2 separate regions of the Homo sapiens genome follow, and region 1 is linked to region 2. Evidence: promoter capture Hi-C in 16 types of primary human blood cells and fetal thymus (Javierre and others, 2016). All regions are on one chromosome and are shown on one strand. The core of a region is centred on a gene start or on the middle of the fragment in contact, and the rest is flanking DNA. Distances in the headings are between cores, read along the strand shown.

What was found. Contacts are between HindIII fragments. The CHiCAGO score rates a contact against its expected background, and 5 or more counts as called.
Region 1: a fragment that was not itself captured here is called in contact with the fragment with the promoter of ZNHIT1 in region 2 in 1 of 17 cell types (activated CD4 T cells); the score reaches 5.1 in activated CD4 T cells.

Annotation. Positions count from the first base shown.
Region 1 is chr7:100,831,685-100,839,177 of GRCh38, forward strand. It overlaps SLC12A9-AS1 (SLC12A9 antisense RNA 1), which reads right to left. Exons shown (of 2, transcript NR_146550.1): 2 at 5,630-5,895. It also overlaps a transcript of SLC12A9 not described here. Among named protein-coding and RNA genes, the nearest start is that of EPHB4, 7.9 kb to the left of the region's middle. RefSeq lists enhancers at 3,593-4,512, 4,513-5,432, 5,433-6,352, 5,810-5,859, 5,870-5,949. The HindIII fragment of the contact is 4,427 bases long and covers 174-4,600 here.
Region 2 is chr7:101,212,647-101,220,088 of GRCh38, forward strand. It overlaps ZNHIT1 (zinc finger HIT-type containing 1), which reads left to right and starts at 5,519. Exons shown (of 5, transcript NM_006349.3): 1 at 5,519-5,571. The coding sequence starts at 5,550. It overlaps PLOD3 (procollagen-lysine,2-oxoglutarate 5-dioxygenase 3), which reads right to left and starts at 4,935. Exons shown (of 19, transcript NM_001084.5): 1 at 4,520-4,935; 2 at 4,049-4,140; 3 at 3,764-3,900; 4 at 3,517-3,680; 5 at 3,262-3,374; 6 at 2,443-2,506; 7 at 461-558; 8 at 196-297; 9 at 1-9. The coding sequence starts at 4,628. RefSeq lists enhancers at 4,041-4,563, 5,112-5,231, 5,325-5,866 and silencers at 4,362-4,481, 4,542-4,591, 4,732-5,011. The HindIII fragment of the contact is 814 bases long and covers 5,398-6,211 here.

The DNA of each region.
Region 1 (7,493 bases), core at 1,137-3,636, 380 kb before region 2:
TCCTGGAGTTACAGCTTTTCCTATTGTAAGAAATAACAAGCAGCAAATCACCCCTTTCTCCGTAAATTGTTGAACTTCTCATTACTCTTTCCACATCTCAGTCTCCCCTCTTCTGGGCCACCTAACTGTGTCGGGTCCAAAGTTCAGGTTTACCCCAAAGTTCATGAAGTTTAAGCTTCAGCACCTCTCACCTGCCTGGCTTCTTCCACGGCCCTGGTTAATAAGTGCCATAATTTAAACAGTTTTGAAGGTGAGTTTCAGCAGGACAACACTTGAAATGACCTGAAATCTTACAGCTCTGTTACAAAAGGAATTTGATAGAGTTTTCAACATTACCAATAGAGTTGTAAAGCTCAAATAAATTTTTATAAACAATGATGAAACCTTAAAAACTTAGCCAGGCTACTCGGGAGGCTGAGGCAGGAGAATCACTTGAACTTGGGAGGCGGAGGTTGCAGTGAGCCGAGATCGCGCCACTGCACTCCAGCCTGGCAACAGAGCGAGACTCCGTCCCACTCCCACCAAAAAAAAATAACTTAGCCAGGCACTGTGGCTCACACCTGTAATTCCAGCACTTTGGGAAGCCAAGGCAGGAGGATTGCTTGAGTCCTGGAGTTTGAGACCGGCCTGGGCAACAAAGTGAGACCCCTGTCTCTACCAGAAAATAAAAAATAAAAAATAGCTGGGCGTGGTGGCATGTGGCTATGGTCTCTCAGACACTGGGGAGGCCGAGGTGGGAGGATCACTGAGCCTGAGAGGTCTAGGCTGCAGGGAGCCGTGATGGCACCACTGCACTCCAACCTGGGCAACAGAGCGAGACCCCATCTCTAAGCAAAAATTAATCAGCCATCCTAGAGGAAAGACAGAGAAAGAATAGAAAATAATATTACAAAATCATCATATGAAGAGATGGTCAAAGAGTACACATCTAAGAAAAAGGTAGTAAATGCAAGTATTCCAGGGCTATATCAGTCTTCTTTACTATAAATGTTGTTATTTTTCTAGCTTGTATAATATTTATGATATTTGTCATATTTTAAACATTTGAGGTCAGCTGTGATTTCTTCTCTCAATCCAAAGATTTTATACCTTTTTTTTTCTTTTTTTAAGAGACAGGGTCTCCCTTTGTCACCCATGCTGGAGTGCAGTGGCACGATCGAGGCTCACTGCAGCCTCGAACTCCCAGGCTCAAGCGATCCTCCTGCCTCAGCCTCCCAAGTAGCTGAGACTACAGGCGTGTGCCACCATGCCTAGCTAATATTTTTAGTGTTTGTACAGACAGGGTCTCACTATGTTGCGCAGGCTGGTCTTGAACTCTTGAGCTCAAGTGATTGTCTAGCCTCAGCCTCCCAAAGTCCTATGATTACAGGTGTGATCCACTGCACCTGGCCTGGCTAATTTATTTTATTTTATTTTTATTTTTTGTAGACATGAGGTCTTGCTATGTTGTCCAGGCTGGTCTCAAACTCCTACCTAATTCTAGCACTGTGTGAGGCCAAAAAAAAAGTTGAAAAAAAGGCTGGGCGCAGTGGCTCACACCTGTAATCTTAGCACTTTGGGAGGCCGAGGCGGGTGGATCACCTGAGGTTGGGAGTTCAAGACCTGCCTGGCCCGTCTCTACTAAAAATAGAAAAATTAGCCAGTTACAGTGGCACACGCCTGTAATCCCAGCTACTCAGGAGGCTGAGGCACGAGAATTGCTTGAATCCAGGAGGCAGAGGTTGCAGTGAGCCAAGATTGTACCACTGCACTCCAGGCTGGGTGACAGAGCGAGACTCTGTCTCAAAGCAAAGCAAAACAAAACAAAAAGCAAAAAAACAAAACAAAACAAAAAAAAACAGACAAGGTATGGTGGCTCATGCCTGTAATCCCAGCACTTTGGGAGGCCGAGGTGGGAGGATCACTTGAGCCCAGGAGTTCCAGGCCAGCCTGGGCAACATAGTGAGACCCCAGCTCTAAAGAAAAAATAGCTGGGTGTGGTGGCTCACACCTATAATCCCAGCACTTTGGGAGGCTGAGGTGGGCGGATCACGAAGTCAGGAGATCGAGACAATCCTGGCTAACATGGTGAAACCCCATCTCTACTAAAAATACAAAAATTAGCCGGGTGTGGTGGTGGGCACCTGTAGTCCCAGCTACTTGGGAGGCTGAGGCAGGAGAATGGCGGGAACCCGGGAGGCGGAGCTTGCAGTGAACCCAGATCACGCCACTGCACTCCAGCCTCAGGTACAGAGCGAGACTCTGTCTCAAAAAAAAAAAAAAAAAAAAAAAAAAAAAGAAAGAAGGAAAAATTGAAAATGGAGGACACCAAGTCATTTTCTACCTTCCAGGATTAGACAAGTCAGGGGTAGAAACAGCCACGGGGCCTCACCAGCATCCAGGTGGCTAAGCGCACAGCCTAACTTGTGGTGCACAGAGGACCCTACAGGATCACGCAGGAAGCACAGCCGATGCAGGTTTCAGGTGAGCTTTCTGCAGAAGGTGATGATGTCTGAATGAGTCCTAGAGATTGGCAGGAAAGGAGTTTAAAGGCAGAGTTGTGAGGTCGCCCCATTCAGAGAGCTGCCAGAGTTCACAACGCCAGGTCAGAGAGGGCAAGGACAGTGACCATGGGTGAACTGGAGAGGTGAGTGAGGGCCAGCCTCAGGTCATTACGGGTTTTTGCAGGACTGCTCTGGGGAGCTAGTGAAGGGTTTTAGGCCAAGAAGCAACATTGCATGGTTTGTAGAGAAAGATCCCACTTATACAATTTTGGAGAATAGACTGAAAGGAATGAAGACTGAAGGCGGGGAAACCAGTGCAGCATCCAAGTGACTATGTGGGTTTGAACCCAGATAGGCGTGTATGTGTGAGTGTGTGTGTGTTGGGGGGGATGGTGCACGCATGTATGGAGCCGGGGAGGATTCAGGAGATAAGGGTTGGGTGCGGTGGCTCACACCTAGAATCCCAGCATTTGGGAGGACGCAGCTGGCAGATCACTTGAGACCAGGAGTACAAGACCAGCCTGGGCAACATGATGAATCCTCATCTCTACAAAAATTAGCCAGGCGTGGTGGAGCACGCCTGTGGTCCCAGCTGTTCGGGGGGCTGAGGTGAGAGGATCACCCGAGCCCAGGAGGCAGAGGTTGTAGTGAGATTGCACCACTGCATTCCAGTCTGGGCAACAGAGCAAGACCCTGTCTCAAAAATAAAAATAATGGGCTGGGCACAGTGGCTCACGCCTGTAATCCCAACTATACAGGAGGCTGAGACAGGAGGATTGCTTGACCCCAGGAGGTGGAGGCTGCAGTGAGCCGCCGTGATCACACCACTGCACTGCAGCCTGGGCAACAGAGTGAGACCCCGTTTCAACAAAAAAAATTAAAATAAACAAACAAAAGAGTGTGATTGGCCGGGTGCAGTGGCTCACGCCTGTAATCCCAGCACTTTGGGAGGCCAAGGCAAGTGGATCACCTGAGGTCAGGAGTTTGAGACCGGCCTGGCCAACATGGTGAAACCCAGTCTCTACTAAAAACACAAAAATTAGCTGGGCATGGTGGTGCGTGCCTGTTATCCAGCTACTTGGGAGGCTGAGGCAGGAGAATCGCTTGAACCTGGGAGGTAGAGGTTGCAGTGAGCTGAGATGGTTCCACTGCACTCCAGCCGGGGCAACAAAGCGAGGCTCTGTCTTTAAAAAAAAAAAAAATGCCGGGCGCGGTCGCTCATGCCTGTAATCCCAGCACTTTGGGAAGCCGAGGTGGGCAGATCCCGAGGTCAAGAGATCGAGACCATCCTGGCCAACATGGTGAAACCCCGTCTCTACTAAAAATACAAAAATTAGCTGGGTGTGGTGGTACGCGCCTGTAGTCCCAGCTACTTGGGAGGCTGAGGCAGGAGAATCGCTTGAACCCGGGAGGCAGAGGTTGCAGTGAGCTGAGATTGCACCACTGCACTCCAGCCTGGGTGACAGAGCAAGACTCCGTCTCAAAAAAAAAAACAACAAAAAAACAAAAACACACATACACAAAAGAGTGTGATTGACCCTTTAACATTTCATGCAGACTTTCCCATCCTGCTCCCCTCCCTAGTGCTGGGGATAGAGGAAGGGCTCTTGAGTGCTGTTGGAATAGCAAGAGGCTGAGAGAAATAGCTAGAAATGGCAGTGAGCATCAGTGAGCTGATAAGAATGAGAGAAGGGCAGAGCTTGTAGCAGAGGCCAGGGATGCCAAAGGGCATGGAGGTGGAGGAGAGAGAGGCTAAGGGGCTGGGGCCAGAGCTAAGAACGACTGTTCAGGGAGTGGAGTGGAAAGGTACAGGGTAGTGGGAGGGTTGGGGAGAGGTAGTGGGAGGCTCATTGTCCCAGCAGGGGGAAGTCTTTTGTTTCCTCTCTTCCCCTGACAGCCTGGCAGGATATGAGGCCAAGCCCCCCCATGCCAGCAGCATCCCAGCACCCACTGGACTGCACTGTGGCCCTTCCCTGACTATTGTGTCCTGGCTGGGAATGGGAGCAGGGGCAGGCAGGAGGCTGGCTCTAGGAGGGAAAGTAAGAAGGACTATTTGTGGCTGGAGGCCAGGATACCGGGGTCTGGAAGGGACAAGAAGCTCTTGGGCTGGTTAGGGAAGCTTGGCACAGAAAGATGTGTGTGGGGAGGAGCAGGAAGCCAGGCCGGGTGGGGCCGGCACCGAGGGTAGCAGGTCGGGCCAGGGGAAGGTAGGCCGGGCCCCAGAGGAGATGACGCAGGGCCTCAGCCCTCTCCCAGGCCCCACTCTTCCAGCCTGGGGACCAGAGAGCTCACCTGAACCTCAGAAAACCCACCCCCCGCTCCATTCCCTAAGGCTGACATCACCCCATGCGCCACAGCCCAGCAACCTGTCTGGCCAGAGCCTTCCACATCCAGCTGCTGCCCAGATACCCTCCCTCCCCAGGATCCAGGGGTCTAGCCTCGCACTGCTGCCCTCCAGGAACCCTGGAATTTCATCCCTCCCCTCGGCTCACTCCTGGGCCGTTTTGCCCCATCAGCTGTTCTTGCAGGAAGGGCGCCCTGCTCAGCTCGCCTCTCTTCCCGAGAGTCTTTTGTTTGCTGGGTCTGCAGGAAATTGGAGGGGCGGTGCCCAAGGGCTCATCTGCCCCTGGGACCTGGGGGAGGGGGGCGCAGATTCACCAGACTTAATCCTGGGGAGTTTACAGCAGGAATGGGGTGGGGGAGGGTGGGGGTGAGGTGGGCGGATCTCCAGGAAATTAGCATTTAAGGCCTAATTCTGAGAGTGCCATTAGATCTCCTTGTCCCGAAGGGGCAGACGGGGCATGTGTGTGTTCCAGGATCTGGGATCCCTAGAATTGAGGGCTGGGGGAACACTCTGAGGTCACCTAATAGGTTGACAGGGGCGTTGACACCAAGGTAGAAAATCTCAGATACTGAATCCCACGATCTCCTCTATATCTATACACCATTTTTAAAAATAGAGATGGGGGCTCGCTATGTTGCCCAGGCTGGTCTCGAACACCTGGGCTCAAGAGATACTCTGGCCTTGGCCCCGCAAAGCGCTGGGATTACAGGCATGAGTCACTGGGCCCAGTCCCACAATCCCGTCTTTTACACGCCTGCGATCCTGCGGATGCCAAGAGGTGGGGAGGCAGGTCAGACCAAACCGTCTTTGAGAATTATTATTTTTTCCATTAAAAAATGGTGGAGAGGACGACCCGCCCGTAGCCACACAATTCGCGCCTTCCCAGGACGCAACCGCAGAAAAAGCGGCGGTGTGGACGCTCTGGCGGGCGGCGTCCTCTCGTTGGTTGCCCTCTCTCTGAAGCCATCATAGTCGCCGCCATCTTTCCTTCCCGGCCGTCAGTCACGTGGGCAGCACGCCCCAGGCCTCCGACTGCTGGCGTGCAGTGGGGCGGATTCCGGAGGATTCCTGCAGCCACAGTGAATGTTTGGTTATTCCAGGCGCAGGGCAGCAGCGAAGAAAACTGAAGCTCCTGTTTCGTGGAGCTTAACTTCCTTTCTTTTTTTGAGACAGGATCTCTCTCTGTTGCCTAGGCTGAGTGCATGGGCAAGGTCATACCTCATTGCAGCCTCGAACTCTTGACCTCAAGTGATCCTCCACACTTGGCCTCCCAAAGTGTTGGGATTATAAACCTGAGCCAATTTTATTTCATCTATTTATTTTTAAAACATTTATTTCAATTTTTTTTTTTTTTTTTTTTTTTTTTTGAGACAGAGTCTTGCTCTGTTGCCCAGGCTGGAGTGCAGTGGCGTGATCTTCGCTCACTGCAAGCTCAGCCTCCTGGGTTCACGCCATTCTCCTGCCTCAGCCTCCCAAGTAGCTGGGACTGCAGGCGCCCTCTACCATGCCTGGCTAATTTTTTTGTATTTTTAGTAGAGACAGGGTTTCACCATGTTAGCCAGGATGGTCTTGATCTCCTGACCTCGTGATCTGCCCGCCTCAGCCTCCCAAAGTGCTGGGATTACAGGCGTGAGCCACCGCACCCGGCTATTTCAAGTTGTAAAATTTTTTTGTGGAGACAGTCTTGCTATGTTGCCCAGGCTGGTCTCACACTCCTGGGCTCAAGTGATCCTCCTGCCTCCACCTTCCAAAGCATTGGGAGTATAGCACCCAGCCATGTGGTTCAATTTTAAATGGGATTCGCAGGGAAGATTTCACTAGGAAGATAATATTTGAGTCCAGAAGACCTAAAAGAGGTTCTGGAGTTGTCTGAGGAACAGCCCAGAGGCCCTAGTGGGGCACGCGCAGGAGGTGAGAAGAGAGATGTGGTGATGGAGAGGCCACATTACAGGCATGGGCCACCATGCCTAGCATTCTGAGACACTTCTGAGCAGAGGAGATACTATTATTTATTTATTTATTTTGAGACAGAGTCTCACTCTGTCACCAAGGCTGGTGTACAGTGACGCGATCTTGGCTCACTGCGACCTGGCCTCTGGGGCTCAAGCGATCTGCCCACTTCACCCTCCCCAGTACCTAGGATTACAGGTGTGTAGCACCACGCCGGCTAATTTTTTTGCATTTTTAGTAAAGGAGGAGACTACCTTTCATATTGTCTTATGCCTAATTTCTGCCTCTAAAGAAAGAAAAAGTAAAAACTAAAAGGCAGAAATAAAATCTACAAGCAGACAGCCCGGTGCCATAACTTAGGCCTAGTAGTTGAAGATCGACCTCTGACCTAATCAGCCATGTTATCTGTAAATTACAGACATTGTATAGAAAGGCACTGTGAAAATGCTTATCCTGTTTTGTTCCGATCTAATTACCGGTGCATGCAGCCCCCAGTCACATACCCCTGCTTGCTCAATCAATCACGACCCTCTCACATGCACCCCCTTAGAGTTGTGAGCCCTTAAAAAAAGACAGGAATTGCCGGGCGCGGTGGCTCACACCTGTAATCCCAGCGCTTTGGGAGGCCGAGGCGGGTGGATCACGAGGTCAGGAGATCGAGACCATCCTGGCTAACACGGTGAAACCCTGTCTCTACTAAAAAATACAAAAAAATT
Region 2 (7,442 bases), core at 4,269-6,768:
GGGGGGAGGCTGGAAGATGCAACACGCAGGGACTCAGAGAGAAGCCCGGACTTCCCTGCTGCCCCCACCCAACCTCCACCCTGACAGGTGCAGGGACCCAGGAGCGATGCCCCCACCGCCCCCCAGTCCGCTGTCCTTGTACCTCCTGCTCAGCACGCTGCCCTCTCGTGCCCCTCCCTGGCACCCCCACCTCACCTGCCCCCCCGGGAGTGTCCTCCGGTCCTGGTTGCAGAAGCCACAGCCTCCCTCAGGAGTCCAGCCATTGGGGACGTAGTTTCCCAGGTAGTTGAGCTGCAGCTGTTGGGGACAGACTGAGGCTGAGTGGCTGAGGCCTCCAGGGGTGGAGGTGGGGGTCAGGCACCTCTGATATGGGGGCTGGGAAGGGCCAGCTTCTCAGAAGGGTTGGAGGTGCCTGGGGGTTGGGGCAGGGCGGGGCGGGGGTTGAGACCACTGGTGGCACCTTAGTGGGACCGTTTCCATGGACCACAATGGGGAGCGTGTCGTAGGCCACGTTCCGGATACGCACACGGTTCCGATCAAACTTTAAAACCACTTCATCTGGGGAAGAAAAAGGCCAGGCTTCAGACCCCCTTTCTCTGGGAGCTACCAAGCAACACATTCTTCTAAATATGGGGTCCCAAATTCTCCAGGGAATAAAGGGACACCAGGGCTATCCTGGAGTGTGGCTCGTTGTGGGCAGGAACCTTTGGGTTCTGACCAGGCTGCTGGCCCAGAGAGCTCCACTGCCTACTACCTGCGTGATCACACCGCAGCTGGGCGAGGAAGGGGAGGGTGAGCTGAGCGGGAGGCCAGTAGGAGCCTCAGCATCCCTACCCCTCCTCATATTCTCTCTCTCCTTGTTTTTTTTTTTTTTTATTTTTATTTTTTGAGATGGAGTCTCACTCTGTCACCCAGGCTGGAGTGCAATGGCGTGGTCTCGGCTCACTGCAACCTCTGCCTCCTGAGTTCAAAAGATTCTCTTGCCTCAGCCTTTCAGGTAGCTGAGACTATGGGCACATGCCACTACACCTGGCTAATTTTTGTATTTGTATTTTTTGTTTTTTATGCTGAGATGGAGTCTCACTCCCAACACGCAGGCTGGAGTGCAGTGGCACGATCTTGGCTCATTGCAACTTCCACCTCCAGGGTTCAAGCGATTCTCCTTCCTCAGCCTCCCGGGTAGCCAGGATTACAGGCGCGCACCACCATGCCCGGCTAATTTTTGTGTTTTTAGTAGAGACAGGGTTTCACCATGTCGACCAGGCTGGCCTTGAACTCCTGACCTCAGGTGATCCACCTGCCTCGGCCTCCCAAAGTGCTAGGATTACAAGCATGAGCCACCACACCCAGCCTAATTTTTGTATATTTAGTAGAGACTGGGTTTCACTATGTCAGCCAGGCTGGTCTCAAACTTCTGACTTCATGATCTGCCCGCCTCAGCCTTCCAAAGTGCTGGGATTACAGATGTGAGCTGTCGCACCTGGCCTTTTTTTTTTTTGAGAAGGAATCTCACTCTGTCACCCAGGCAGGAGTGCAGTGGCGCAATCTCGGCTCACTGCAAGCTCTGCCTCCCGGGTTCCAGTGATTCTCCTGCCTCAGCCTTCTGAATAGCTGGGATTACAGGCACCCGCCACCACGCCCAGCTCATTTTTGTACTTTTTTTTAGTAGAGACGGGTTTTCGCCATGTTGGCCAGGCTGGTCTCAAACTCCTGACCTCAAGTGATCCTCCTGCCTGGGCCTCCCAAAATGTTGGGATTACAGGCGTGAGGCACCGTGCCTGGCCTCTCTCTCTCCCCGTTCTCCCCATCCCCTGAGGCAAGTCACCAACCCCTCCACAAGCTGTTTTCCTCATCTGTACAAGAAGGATAACCAGGGACCTTCCCTTTGTTAAATGGAATCACAGAAGTAGACCGGGCACAGTGGCTCATGCCTGTAATCCCAGCACTTTGGGAGGTTGAGGCAGGCGGATCACCTGAGGTTGGGAGTTCGAGACTAGCCTGGCCACCATGGTGAAACCCTGTCTCTACTAAAAATACAAAATGAGCTGGGCGTGGTGGCGCATGCCTGTAATCCCAGCTACTCGGGAGGCTGAGGCAGAAGAATCACTTGAACCCGGGAGGTGGAGGCTGCAGTGAGCCAAGATTGGACCACTGCACTCCGGCCCGGGCAACAGAGCGAAACTCTGTCTCAAAAAAAAAAGTCCCTGGCCCGGTGCCCAGGCACAGCATGTGTGCAACAGATGCCAGACACGTTTTTGCTTCCCTTGCTTCTGGTAGTACCATCAGCACAGTGCAACTTACACAACCAGCCACTCAGACGCCTGACAAAACCACATAGAGGTGGGCTTGGATCAGCCCAGCTCCTCCAGAAGCCTCTCCCAGCTCAAGACCCCTAGCTGCAGAGGCTGCGCATCGCCCACCTGCGGCTGTCTTCCTCCTCACCTAAAGCCCCGTTGAGGTTCTGAAAGATCCGAGACTTATGATCCAGATTAAGGCTGAGTTTCTCCTAAATGGAATGAGATGCGATGGAGTGGTTAAAATGGAAGGAGTGGAAAGGACATCATTTCTCACTTTTCTCTCTCTTTTTTTCTTCTCTTGCTTTTGTTGCTTAGGCTGGAGTGCAATGGCACGATCTCAGCTCACTGCAACCTCTGCCTCCCGGTTTAATTGATTCTCTTGCTTCAGCCTTCCAAGTAACTGGGACTACAGGAGAGTGTCACCACGCCTGGCTAATTTTTGTATTTTTAGTAGAGACGGGGTTTCACCATGTTGGCCAGGCTGGTCTCAAACTCCCAATCTCAGGTGATCCACCCGCCTCAGCCTCCCAAAGTGCTGGGATTATAGGCATGAGCCACCATGGTTTTCCTTTTTTTGTGAGAGACAGAGTCTCATTCTGTCACCCAGGCTGGAATGCAGTGGTGCAAAACATCCTCAAACTCCTGGGCTCAAGTGATGGTCCCACCTCAGCCTCCCAAGTAGCTGGGATTACAGGCGTACACCATGAAGCCTGGCTAATTTTTTCTTTCTTTTTTTTTGTAGAGATGAGGTCTCAACTATGTTGTCCAGGCTGGTCTTAAATTCCTGGACTCAAGCAATCCTCCTGCCTAAGCCTCCCAAAAGTCTTGGATGACAGGCGTGAGCCACCACGCCCAGGCACACATTTTTCTCTTTGCAACCCCCTTTGCTCCCCAAATCCCATTCAGCCTGAGGCCTCCACTCCCACAGAGCTGCGGGATGCGCCCACTCCTCTGCCTTCCCTACCCTCAGTCCTGGGTCCAGGTAGAGCCGTGTGTAGAACAGCTGGTCGTCGTCATCATCCTTGTACTTCCACTGGCGCACGATTTGGTGGATGGTGGTGGCAAAACCGATGAATCCTGGCGGGGAGGGGGAGTGTTGACCTCGAGACTCCCAGGGTCCCAGGGCCTGTCCCCCAGGCTGTCTCCAGCCCTCAGGCGCCTTTAACACTCTGTGTCCCACCGCTCTTGGCCCCTCTGCCTTGGGCACTCTGCCACTCACCACCAGAATTGAGGAAGCGCTTCCCCGTGCCCACCTCAGGGTACTGCTCCGCCAGCCCCCACTCGGGCCAGCAGAAGCTCTCTGCAGAGAAGAGCAGGCGGCTGCCACTCTGGACGAACTTCTTCAGCAGCTCTGTGGGGCTGCCGGCCAGAATCACGTCGTAGCTGGGTGAGGAAGGGGAGGATGGGCAGGGGTCCACTGGGAACCTCAGCATCCTTACCCCGCTCCCTATCCCCAGCCCCGTTACCTATCCACAAACATGATGATCATATCCTCCCGGTCAGCGTATTTCTCCATTTCCTTCTTTAACCACCGGACCTTCTGTCCTCCACCAACTGTTCGAGCCACATCACCCCCTCGCCACTCCTCTCCCAGGCCCAGGGTCTGTGGAGAAGATTGCCCCGTGCCAGGCAAGGGGTGGGGAGTTGTGGGGGGAACTCCTGACCAGGCTTACCGTGGGGACCTGGGCATCCAGACTTCAGCCCACCCCTCCTGCTGGGACCCCCTCCCAGGGGCCTTTCCCTCTCCTCACCCGCACAGTGTAGTTGAAGAACTCCGCAGAGCGCAGGAAACGCAGGTACCCCTCGGTTTCAGCTGTGGCCACAGTGATCACCAGCAGCTTCTCTGTTACCAGAGGGAAATGGCACTTGAGATCCACCGCCCAGCTCCGGGCCTCACGTGCTTTGCTGTCCTCCCTCTCACTCGACTTCCCTCCCTTTCTTCCTTCCCATTCTTAAACTCTTCTCACCCAGGAACACTCTGACCCCAAGGAGGGCAGGGTGGGAGTGGTGCCCAGGAATTCCGAGTCCCTTTGCATAGGGAGGCTGGAAACCCCAGTTCAGGGTAGTGATGGGCGAGGGGCTTGGCGCGACTCAGCCTCAAGAGCACGCTGGGCGGGGGACGGGCCAGACACCTCCTCGAGCCTCCGACCCTCTCCGGGCCAGGCTGGCAGGCACGCCAGCCTCTGCCCCCTCGGCCGTGCCGGGCCTCCCCGGGATCTCACCTGGGTTGACCGGGTCTCGGCCCCGGGGCCGGTCGGAGGCTGAGGCCGCAGGGGGCAGCAGCAGCGGCAGCAGCAGCAGGAACCGGGGTCCAGGCCCCGAGGAGGTCATGGTGGGGAGCGGGCCCAGACAGCACCCAGGATCCTGGGATCTCCGCTACGCGCCTGGATCCCAGCTCCGGAGGGGAGCTCTGGAAAGGGGGCGCTCGGGCTGCTGTGCGGCCGCCGCGGGGAGCAGCTTGGCTGGGGCTACGCCCTGAAAAAAAGGCGTATCCGGAGGCTACAGAAAGCTCCAGATGCCGGCGCCACAGACAAGGCGAGGATTGTCCCGGGCGCACGGGAGGCGGGGGAGGGGCGGCGGCTCGGGCCGGCGGGCGGGAGACAGGGACTCTGGGCTGAGCCAGCCGCTTGACACATGTGGAAGCTGAAACCTGGACAGGGGAAGTGACCCCTGGCGGAGGGTCGGGCGGGACGCGGGGGCGGGTCCTGGCCGCAGCCCTGCCCAGAGAGTGCGGGCGGAAGACGGGGAGAGCGAGAGGCTGGCGGCGACAGGGAGGGAGGAAGCCTAGGAGTCCGCCGCGGGACGGAGGCCTGGGGGAACTGGGAGTTCAGCTTTCTGCAGAGGGCCACTAGGAACCTCGGATTGCCCACGGAAGCCAGCCACTTTCTTTGACAGTCCAGCCCACCTCCTCTTCTGCCCGGAGAAGCTCCAGGGGCTGCCTTTGTGATCACAGCATCTTCACAAGGACCAAAGGAAAATAAGATTTCTTGTAAGAACACCGTGACCACATCTTTAAAATGACCCATTTCGTGGCTCCCACAAGATTTACACCTCCACACTGAGGCCGGAAGTGGTTTTGCCCCTATAAAACATGGCGAAAAGCTTTCTTGTCTCCAAGGAAACGCCACGTAATGAGTCAAAGCTGTGGCGCACGCGCAGAAGTACAAGCTACCGGAAGTGATGGCGCCCCTACTAAAGCCTTGGGGTTAGTACGCGTGCGCAGCAGTTTCTTCCGACAGTTGTGTTGTGCCAATGGTGGAGAAGAAAACTTCGGGTATGTGAGCCCCCGCGGTTCGCCCCCTTCCCCTTCCCAAGTCAGTCCTAGAATTTTCTTACCTAGTCATTCCTCTTTTTTGGTCTCGCTCTTTCGCCTAGGCTGGAGTGCAGTGGCATAGTCATAGCTCACTGCAGCCTCGATTTCCTGGGATCAAACCATCCTCCCACCTCAGCCTCCGGAGTGGCTGGAACTGCAAGCATGAGGCCCCACGCCTGGTTAATTTTTAATTTGTTATGTGGTGACGGGCTCTCGCTATGTTGCCCAGGTTGGTCTCCAACTCTTGGCCTCAAAGCGATCCTCCTGCGTGGGCCTTCCAAAGTGCTGGGATTACAGGCGTGAGCTGCCGCGCCCGGCCCCAGCTATTCCTCGTAAATCCCTTCCTCAGCCCTCGGGTCCTGGCGTTGACCCTTCATTCACGTTTTATTGGTGCCTGCTCCAAGCCGGGCGCTGGGGATGAAGAGGAGAAAGACCCCTCTTATCCAAGCATTGGCTTTTTCTGGAAGGGGGGCAGAAACGCAGACCTAACACTGTATTTTACTGTGATTTGTGATTTGTGCTATGGCAGAGGGAAGCACAGCGCCTGGGAACAGGGAGACGTGGCATCTAGCCCAGGTTCTGGGAGGCAGGGGACTGTGAAAGCTTGAAGGAAAAATGAAAAAGCTTGAATTGAGTCTTGAAAGTCTAGTTAGGGTTTCTCTCAGTGGGAACCTCACGTGCAAAGGCAGTGAAGCAAGAAAAAGCAAGTCGCTTAGGAAGCCAAGTTCACAGTTTGGATCTTACAGAGTAATAAGAAAGGATCGAAGGCTGGGGAAAGGTTACATTTTGAAAGGCATTATACACACTGCCCAGGAGTTTGAACTCTGTAGGGAAACACTGGAGAGCCAGCAAAGACTTTTTTTTTTTAGACAGAGTCTTGCTCTGTCACCCAGGCTGGAATGCAGTGGTTCTATATAACTCACTGCAGCCTCAACCTCCCATGCTCAAGTGATTCTTCCACCTCAGCCACCTGAGTAGGTGGAACTACAGGTGGGTGCAGGCCACCATGCTGGGCTAGTTTTTATATTTTTTGTTGAGATGGGTGTCTCACTATGTTGCCCAGGCTGGTCTTGAACTCCTGAGCTCATGTGATCCTCCTGCCTCGGCCTTCCAAAATGCTAGGATTACAAGTATGAGCCACTGCGCTTGGCCCTTTTAGTTTTTCTTTCTTTCTTTTTTTTTCTTTTTGAGACGGAGTCTTGCTCTGTCCCCCAGGCTGGAGTGCAGTGGCGCAATCTCGGTTCACTGCAAGCTCTGCCTCCCGGGTTCACACCATTCTCTGGCCTCAGCTTCTGGAGTAGCTGGGACTACAGGCGCCCGCCACCACACCCAGCTTATCTTTTGTATTTTTAGTAGAGACAGGGTTTCACCATGTTAGCCAGGATGGTCTTGATCTCCTGACCTCGTGATCCACCCGCCTCGGCCCCCCAAAATGCTAGAATTACAGGCATGAGCCACTGCGCTTGGCCCTCTCAGTTTTTCAAAGGCATCGCAGTCTCCCAGCCATCAGTTTTTTCATGTTGGCCTCAAGGTCTGAAATACCCCGCTGTCTCCCCTAGCCAGGTCATTCACCAGTTAGGCCTTAACCTAGACTTACCTTCTTCTGGGAAGTCTTCCCTGACTACTCCAAGGCCAGGTTGGGTGTTTCTGTCCTGGGCTCTGCAGCACTTTATACTTCCGTATCCTAGCCTACTCCATGCTGTACTTACTGTGTTTGTTTCATTAATCATTTGTGTTTGCCACTGGACTGTAAGCTTTGGCATCCCTAAAACCTAGAGCACTGCCTGGCATTTGGAGGGGAGACAGAGTAGTACAGTGATCATAATCATATT